Linked DNA regions of Homo sapiens: regions 2 and 3 are each linked to region 1. Evidence: promoter capture Hi-C in human tissues and cell types (Jung and others, 2019). All regions are on one chromosome and are shown on one strand. Each heading gives the region's core, a stretch centred on a gene start or on the middle of the fragment in contact. The rest is flanking DNA. Distances are from core to core; before and after follow the strand shown. Region 1 holds the start of RPL26L1 (ribosomal protein L26 like 1). Region 2 has its middle 31 kb from the start of NKX2-5. Region 3 overlaps CREBRF (CREB3 regulatory factor).

Region 1 (2,926 bases), core at 217-2,716:
CCCGGAATAAAACCTAGTATTAGTAGGCCAGGCGCAGTGGCTCACGCCTGTAATCCCAGTACTTTGGGAGGCCGAGGCGGGAGAATCACCTGAGGTCGGGAGTTCAAGACCAGCCTGACCAACATGGAGAAACCCCGTCTCTACTAAAAATACAAAATTAGCCGGGCGTGGTGGCGCATACCTGTAATCCCAGATACTGGGGAGGCTGAGGCAGGAGAATCGCTTGAACTTGGGAGGCGGAGGTTGCGGTGAGCCGAGATGGTGCCACTGCACTGCAGCCCAGGGAACAAGAGCGAAACTCTATCTCAAAAAAAAAAAAAAAAAAAATCTAGTATTAGTAAACGCAGGTGTTTAACAATGTCACCACTACATGTCAGGGAACACTGATAAACTAAGAGAGAGCACGGGACCTGCCTGGGTGTGGCTGCTGTACTTGCAAGACATCTTCCCTCTCTGAGTTTCAGCATGCCGGCATTTGGCACTAAGTTGTCGTTCAACATATATGGAATGAATGAACGAAAGGGAGAGTTGGAGTTAATAACACCTTGCATAGAATAAACCCCGTCGGTTCTTAACCCGAAGAGAGTCGAGACCCAGAGCCCTTTTCCTTCCCTGCCGCCACGGTGCCCACGGAGGGGGCGTGGTTGATCTCCCTCACAGCTCCGTCGGGACCAGAGACCCGGGGACCTTTTACACCCAGGGTCCGCGCAAAGTGTCGGCCTAGCCAGTGGTTGGGTGGCGCCCGGGCCTCCAGGCAGTCTTCCAGGGGTCGGCGAACGAAACGCGGAGCTCGGGAGCGACCCGGCGGGGCCAGGCACGGGCAGAAGGGCCAAGAGGGCCACAGGTGGGCGCGGAGCGGCCGGAGTGGGCGGGGACTGGATGAGAGGGGCGGGGTCTAGGAGAGAGGGGCGGGGCGGCGGCCACAAACCCGCAGGCACGCCGCCGGCCGCCGTTTAGTCCCAGAGATAGAAAAAAGTAGAGGTAGGAGGGCGCGGCGGCTCACGCCTGTAATCCCAGCACTTTGGAAGGCCGAGGCGGGCGGATCACGAGGTCAGGAAATCGAGACCATCCTGGCTAACAGGGTGAAACCCCGTCTCTACTAAAAATACAAAAAATTAGCCGGGCGTGGTGGGGGGCGCCTGTAGTCCCAGCTACTCGGGAGGCTGAGGCAGGAGAATGGCGTGAACCCGGGAGGCGGAGCTTGCAGTGAGCCGAGCTCGCGCCACTGCACTCCAGTCTGGGCGACAGAGCGAGACTCCGTCTCAAAAAAAAAAAAAAGAACACCAGTAAGCCTCTACCGCAGGCCCTACACAAGCAGGCCCTTGTACTCACTGGCATCGCCCTCCCGGGGCCGCCAGGAATGAGGCACTGAGATCCCACCCCAAGCCGCTGGGGGCGCCATTCGACTTCGCTCCTACGGAAATGGGGCTTCGATGTCTTTCTGCGCTTGCGCGGCACGGAAACTCACTTCCGGCCCTGCGCACTCAGGGTCTGAGGCAGCTAGTAGCCGGGTGAGTGGAGGCTGGAGTTTTCTCGGACAGTGAACTCTACCGCCCCGTGAGACCCTGCCCTATGTGTCGCGGGAACACATGTCACCCCACAGCTCTCTTTGAGTGACCTCCCGACCACCCATTCCTGCCTAACCCTAGCATTCCTTCCTCAGCCTCAAGGTCCCAGTGCTACCCTCTCCCCCACGACCCCTTTAGACGGGCATGCGACCTCCACACACGCCTCACTTTATGTGATAGTCAGACTAGTCGCATCTCTCTGTCCTCCCTCAGTTGCCTTTTCAGAGGCTACCTCCCCTGTAGAGCCTTTGTTGGGGGATGAGGAGTGTCTTGGGTCGAGAACAGGCCCCTGTAACCCACTGAGCGCCCCTTCATTCCGTCTCTCTCCGCCCTTTGTAGAGGGTCACCATGAAGTTCAATCCCTTCGTTACCTCGGACCGCAGTAAAAACCGCAAACGTCACTTCAATGCCCCCTCACACGTGCGCAGGAAGATCATGTCATCCCCGCTCTCCAAGGAGCTGCGGCAGAAGTACAATGTCCGCTCCATGCCCATCCGCAAGGACGACGAGGTCCAGGTACGTCTCCCTCCGGCGCTAGTGGCGCTCGGACACCGTTGCCTAAGAACGTCATGCGTGGAGCAGTCACAGACTCACATGCCTCAGGACTCTGGAAAGTAGTGTGACCCTTCAGATGTGTTAGGCCAGAGATAGGGTTCAGAGCCACCAGAGAGTGCCTGCGTTGCTTTAGAGCATTTAATTATTTAATAGTAATAGTAAAATTTAATAAAACAGTATGTCAACCAAGCAAAAACCTGCTTTTTTGTTTGTTTTGTAGAGATAGGGTCTTGCTATGTTGCCCAGGCTGGTCTCTGAACTCCTGGCCTCAAGTGATCCTCCCACCTCAGCCTCCCAAAGCACTGGGATTACAAGTGTGAGCCACCGTGCCCCACCAAAAATACTTTTGATTTAACCTTCTGGCTGCTAGTTTGCCAAGTGTTGTTGCCCAGGGTGGCTTGTTGAACCAGACTGTAGGGGAAGGTGCTGCAGTGAGAGTAGTGTTTTAGTGTATTTGGGTGTAGTGGGATTGATGGACAGAGATTTGTGGGAGCTGGCCATGTGATAGCATTGGATTTGGCAGGAGAACTGGTAAAGATGCAGCGAGTCACTCTTTCATAATTTCTAAAAGACTGGCCCATGTGAGAACGTACAAGCCCTCTGTTCTCTGTGATTGGAGCTTAGAATGCATGAGAGGAGGGAAGGGAGTTGGATATGAGTGAAATAAGCAGGGGCTAGATTCATTCCTCAAAGGAATATTTATGGAGCACTTACCAGAGATTGTTCTAGGACAAGATTGACGAGGCCCTTGTTCTCATGGAGATCACGTTTTAGAGCAGGGTTTCCTAGCCTCAGCTCTATTG
Region 2 (2,926 bases), core at 132-2,631, 240 kb after region 1:
TCCCGGGATGCCTGGAGGGCAGCCTGGCATTTGGGTCCAGGTTCATAATCTCAGAATCTGGGGGAAAGCATCTTTTTTTCCATAACTAGTTATGTCTCCCCCTAGACCCCATTTTTCTAGGACCCAATCAAGTTGCTTCCCAAACACTAAAGAATTCTTACAGGTTCCCGGCCTTTTCTTCATCTCACAGGACGCTCTGGTTTCTGCTGTCGGCCCTTCTCCCTCCTCTCCAGCAGTTCTAACCCCATCTGCCCGCAAAGCCTCTGTAAATAAGATAAACACAACAACAGATCTAATATCAAAGGCGTGGGAGGTTGAAAGTGGACACAGGTGATGTGCATGTAGAGCAGACGTCCCGTATGCCTCACCCGTCTTCAGACCACCCCAGCCGCTGCTGCAGGGAGCACCCCTCTGTGAGCACTGTCCAAGTGCACACAAGCACAACCTATGAGCGGGCCTTGCGCCCAGGCTGCCCACCTCTCACCTGCAGCCCGAGGGCTACCCTATAGCCATTGAGGAGTGAGGCGCTGAGGGTCCACTCGGTCCCATGCAAAACCTAGAACTGCAGGGGACTCCATCCCTGTGAGGAAAACCCTCCACCTATAGGAAATGGGAACGGGCAGAGCCCTCCCCTCCCCTCCCCCTCCTCCCTCTTTCTTTCTTTCTTTCTTTCTTTCTTTCTTTCTTTCTTTCTTTCTTTCTTTCTTTCTTTTTCTTTCTTTCTTTCTTTCTTTCCTTTCTTTCTTTCTTTCTTTTTCTTTCTTTTCTTTTCTTTTTCTCTTTCTTTCTCTCTCTTTCTTTCTCTTTCTCTTCCTTCCTTCTTTCTATAAAATATATATACCATAACATTTCTCGTTTTAACTATTTTCGAGCGTGCCATCCTGTGGCATTCAGTTCTTGAAGTACATTCATACTGTCATGCAACCATCAGTTGGCATGCACCCACCAGCCATATCCAGAAGTTTTTCATCTTTCTAAATGGAAGCTGTACACCTATTACCCCCCAATCCCTCCTCCCTCCAGCCCCTGGAAGTCACCATTCAATTTCGTGTCTACATGAATTGAACTACTCCGCGTACCTCATATGAGTGGAATCCTATGGGTATTTATCTTTTTGCGACTGGCTTATTTTATTTAGCATAATGTCCTCAAGGTTTGTCTATATTTTAACATGTTAACATTTTCTTCCATTTCAATCTGAGCTATTTGTTCAGGAAGAAAGCATTAAAAATTTTTTCCTTCCAATCACCACCAGTTACAGAGTTCTTTTTTTCTCCTCCACTCCCACTGCTTCACTTGACAAGTCTTAAAAAAATTCTGACCAGCCTAGGCAACATAGTGAGACCTCATCTCTATAAAAAATAAGCAGAAAATTCGCCAGGTGTGGAGGTGTGCACCTGTAGTCTCACCTACTCAGGAGGCTGAGGTGGGAGGATTGCTTGAGACTGGGAGGTTGAGGCTGCAGTGAGCCGTGATCACACCACTGCACTCCAGCCCGGGCAACAGAATGAGACCCTTTCTCAAAAGCAAACAAACAAAACAAAACAAAAAACCCAAAAAACCTCCTTCCTTTTTATGGCTGAATAATATTCCATTGTATGCACATTCTGCATTTTATTTACCTATTCATCTGTCAGTGGACACTTGGTTTGCTGCCACCTTTTGGCTATTGTGAATAATGCTGCTGTTAATCTTGGTGCACAAATATCCACTCTGCTTTCACTTTTTTGGGGTATATACCTAGAAGCGGAATTGCTGGATCTTATGGCAATTGTATGTCATTTTTTTTTGAGGAATTGTCATAACTTTTTCTACAACAGCCACACCATTTTACATTACCAGCAGCAAGGGACCAGGGTTCCGATTTCTCCACATCTAGCCAGCGTTTTCTTTCTTTCTTTCCTTTAACTTTTTTTTTTTCCTGTGTTGCCCAAGCTGGTCTCAAACTTCTGGCCTCAAGTGATCCTCCCACCTCAACCTCCCCAGTAGCTGGGTCTGTAGGCATGCACCACCATGCCCAACTTTTGCTTCTTCTTCTTCTTTTTTTAATTCCTTCCTTCCTTCGTTCCTTCCTTCCCTCCTTCCATCCCTCCCTCCCTCCCTTCCTCCCTCCCTTCCTTCCATCCTTCCTTCCCTCCTTCCATCCTTCCTTCCTTCCTTCCTTCCTCCCTTCCTTCCTTCCCTCCTTCCCTCCCTCCTTCCTTCCTTCCTTCGTCTCTCTCTTTCCTCTTTCTTCTTTTTCTTTCTTTCCCTGCTTGTTTGCCTTCTCTCTTTCTTTTGATAGTAGCCATTCTAATGGGCATAGAATGGAACCTCGTTGTGGTTTGGATTTGCGTTATCCTAATGACTAGTAATGCTGACCATCTTTCCATATGCTCACTGGCCATTTGTATATCCTCTGTGGAGAAATGTCTATTCAAGTCGTTTGCCCATTTTAAAATCAGTTTTTAAGAAATTGTTGTTGGCCAGGCATGGTGGCTCACGTCTGTAATCCCAGCACTTTGGGAGGCTGAGGCGGGTGGATCACGAGGTCAGGAAATCGAGACCATCCTGGCTAACACGGTGAAACCCCATCTCTACTAAAAATACAAAAAATTAGCCGGGCGTGGTGGCGGGCGCCTGTAATCCCAGCTACTCGGGAGGCTGAGGCAGGAGAACGGCCTGAATCCGGGAGGCAGAGCTTGCAGTGAGCCGAGATTGCGCCACTGCACTCCAGCCTGGGCAACAGAGTGAGACTCTGTCTCAAAAAAAAAAAAAAAAAAAGAAATTGTTGTTGAGTTGTAGGAGTACTTCATATATTCTGCATATCACTCCCTTGTCAGATACACGATTTGCAAGTATTGTCTTCCATTTTATGGTTGCCTTTTCATTGCTTATAGTGTCCTTTGATGCACAAAAGTTTTTAATTTTAAGAGTTCAACTTATC
Region 3 (2,926 bases), core at 305-2,804, 140 kb after region 1:
GCTCACTGCAACCTTGGCTCACTGCAACCTCCTCCTCCCAGGTTTGAATGATTCTCCTGCCTTAGCCTCCCAAGTAGCTGGGATTACAGGCACCTGCCACCACACCTGGCTAATCTTTTGTGTGTGTGTGTGTGTGTGTGTGTGTGTGTGTGTGTGTGTATATATATATAATTTTTTTTTTTTTTTTTTTTTTTTAGTAGAGACAGGGTTTCATCATGTTGGCCAGGCTGGTCTCAAACTCTTGACCTCAAGTGATCCGCCCACCTCGGCCCTCCAAAGTGCTGGGATTAGTAGTGTGAGTCACCATGCACAGCCAAAATTATTTTATATATAGTTATTTTTAATGCCTTTTTAACTTTTATACTAGCATTAAAAGTGTTTTGCATACCACTGTTACAGTATTAGAGCATTCTGAATATGACTGTTCTTATTTTTACACAGTGAATTTTATACTTTCATGTTTTTCTTTTCTTTTTTTTTTGGAGATGGAGTCTCACTCTCTCGCCCAGGCTGGAGTGCAGTGGCGTGATCTCAGCTCACTGCAACTCCACCTCCCGGGTTCAAGCGATTCTCCTGCCTCAGCCTCCTGAGTAGCTGAGATTACAGGTGACCACCACCACGCCCTGCTAATTTTTGTATTTTTAGTAAAGACAGTGTTTCACCATGTTGGCCCGGCTAGTCTCAAACTCCTGACCTCAGGTGATCCACCTACCTCAGCCTCGAAAAGTGCTGGGATTACAGGCGTGAGCCACACCGCTCCCCCCCAACCCATATGTTTTCATGCTGTTAGTTAGCATCCTTTCATTTCAACTTGAAGAACTCCCATTAACATTTCTTGTGAAGCAGTCCTACTGGTGATGAACTCCCTCAGCTTTTGTTTTCTGGGAGTCTTTTTTGTTTTCCCTTAAGAGAGAGGGTCTCACTGTGTTACTCAGGCTGGTCTTGAACTCCTGAGCTTAAGCAATCTTCCCAGTTCAGTCCTCTTGAGTAGCTGGAACTACTGATGTGCATCATCATGCCCAACTTAGGAAAGCTTTTATTTATTTTTTTCATTTGTGAAGGACAGCTGGCTTGCTGGATATGGTGTTCTTTGTAGGGTATTGTTTTTGTTTTTTTCTCTGAGACAGGGTCTTAACTCTTGCTCAGGCTAGAGTGCAATGGCGTGATCCTAGCTTACTGCACCCTCAATCTCCTGGGCTCAAGCAATCCTTCCACCTCAGCCTCCCAAGTAGCTGAGGTGTATGCCACCACACCCAGCTAATTTTTGTATTTTTTTTGTAGAGATGGGGTTTTACCATGTTACCCAGGCTGGTCTTATACTCCTGGGCTGAAGCATTTTACCTGCCTTGGCCTCCCAGAGTGCTGGAATTACTTGCATGAGCCACCATGCCCAGCCCAGTGGTTTTTTTTCTTTCAGCACTTTGAATATGTTATCTCACTCTCTTCTAGCCTTCAAGGTTTCTGCTGAGAAAACCACTGACAGTCTTATGAGAGTTTCATTGTATATGACAAGTTGCTTTTCTCTTGCTGCTTTCAAAAGTCTGTTTGTCTTTGACTTTCCAGAATTTGATTATAATGTGTCTTAGTGAAGTTTTTTTTTTTTTTTTAAGACGAAGTCTTGCCACTCTGTCGCCCAGGCTGGAGTGCAGTGGCACCATCTTGACTCACTGCAACCTCTGCCTCCTGGGTTCAAGTGATTCTCCTGCCTCAGCCTCCTGAGTAGCTGGGATTACCGACACCCACCATACCTAGCTAATTTTTGTATTTTTAGTAGAGACGGGGTTTCACCATGTTGGTCAGGCTGGTCTTGAACTCCTGACCTCAGGTGATCTGCCCCATCGGCCTCCCAAAGTGCTGGGATTACAGGTGTGAGCCACCGCGCCCGGCCTGTCATTATTACTTTAAATAAGCTTTCTGCCCCTTTCTCTTTCTTTACTCTTTTCACTATTCCTATAATGTGCATTTCATTTTGCTTGATGGTGTCCTATAAATCCTGTAGGCTTTCTTTATTCTTTTTCATTCCTTTTTCTTTTTGTTCCTCTAACTGGATAATTTCAAATGACCTGTCTTGGAGCTCACTGCTTCTTTCTTCTGTTTGATCAAGTCTTCTGTTGAATTGCCCTATGGAATATTTCAGTTTAGTCCTTGTGTTCTTCAGCTCTAGATTGCATTTGGTTGTCTATGTTCTCTTGTTGCTCACTGAGCTTCTTTAAGACAATTATTTTGAATTCTTTGTTAGGAAGTTCATAGATCTGCATTATTTTGGATCAGTTGCTGGTGCTTAATTTTCTTCCTTTGCTAGTGTCATTTGTCCCTGATTATTTGTGATCCTTGTGGCCTTTAATTGGTGTCTATACATTTAAACATGTGGACTCCTCTTCCAGTCTTTATAGACTGGCTTTGCCAAGGAAAGCCCTTCACTTGTCAGGTCATCTAGAGGTTCTGGGTGGGCTTGCTGAAGGGCTCTGCAGGCAAGTTTGCTCCTGGAGTCCTTGGGTAGGCTGGCCTATTGCTGGAGTCAGCAGCCAGGTGGGTCTGAGGCTTGGGTCTGTAGAGGTCATCCTGGTGCCTGGTACTGTGGAAGCAGGCCTGGAGCCTGGATCATTTGGGGTCAGTCTGAAACCTGGGTCCATAGGAGCTGAACCGGCAGTGGGGTGGGCTTTGAGTCTGAATCCACGAGAACTTACCTGGCACCTGTATCTGTGGGAGTGGACTTGGTCCTGACTCCACAGGCACCAGCGTGGCATGGGGGTCTCTTGGGGCAGGCCTGTCAACTAGGACTGTGGGTGTGAGCCTGGAGTCCAGGACTCCAGGGATGGGTGGGCCCTGAGCCTAGGTCTGCAGCTGCTGGCTTGGTGCTGGGGTAGACCTGTAACCAGGTTCTGCTGGGGCTAGCTTGGGTCCATGGGAACCATTTTGGAGCTTG

The links. Contacts are between HindIII fragments. The study calls those that stand out against the background at their distance.
Region 2: a contact is called between a fragment that was not itself captured here and the fragment with the promoter of RPL26L1 in region 1, in 1 of the 25 tissues and cell types used here (spleen).
Region 3: a contact is called between a fragment that was not itself captured here and the fragment with the promoter of RPL26L1 in region 1, in 1 of the 25 tissues and cell types used here (IMR-90 fibroblasts).

The regions. Positions count from the first base shown.
Region 1 is chr5:172,957,958-172,960,883 of GRCh38, forward strand. It overlaps RPL26L1 (ribosomal protein L26 like 1), which reads left to right and starts at 1,467. Exons shown (of 4, transcript NM_016093.4): 1 at 1,467-1,511; 2 at 1,908-2,084. The coding sequence starts at 1,917. RPL26L1-AS1 (RPL26L1 antisense RNA 1) reads right to left here and starts at 1,411. Exons shown (of 4, transcript NR_026682.1): 1 at 1,333-1,411; 2 at 182-300. The HindIII fragment of the contact is 17,043 bases long and covers 1-2,926 here.
Region 2 is chr5:173,202,785-173,205,710 of GRCh38, forward strand. No RefSeq gene overlaps it. Among named protein-coding and RNA genes, the nearest start is that of NKX2-5, 31 kb to the right of the region's middle. The HindIII fragment of the contact is 8,150 bases long and covers 1-2,926 here.
Region 3 is chr5:173,099,961-173,102,886 of GRCh38, forward strand. The region is part of intron 4 of CREBRF (CREB3 regulatory factor); the gene reads left to right. Among named protein-coding and RNA genes, the nearest start is that of BNIP1, 43 kb to the right of the region's middle. The HindIII fragment of the contact is 5,379 bases long and covers 1-2,926 here.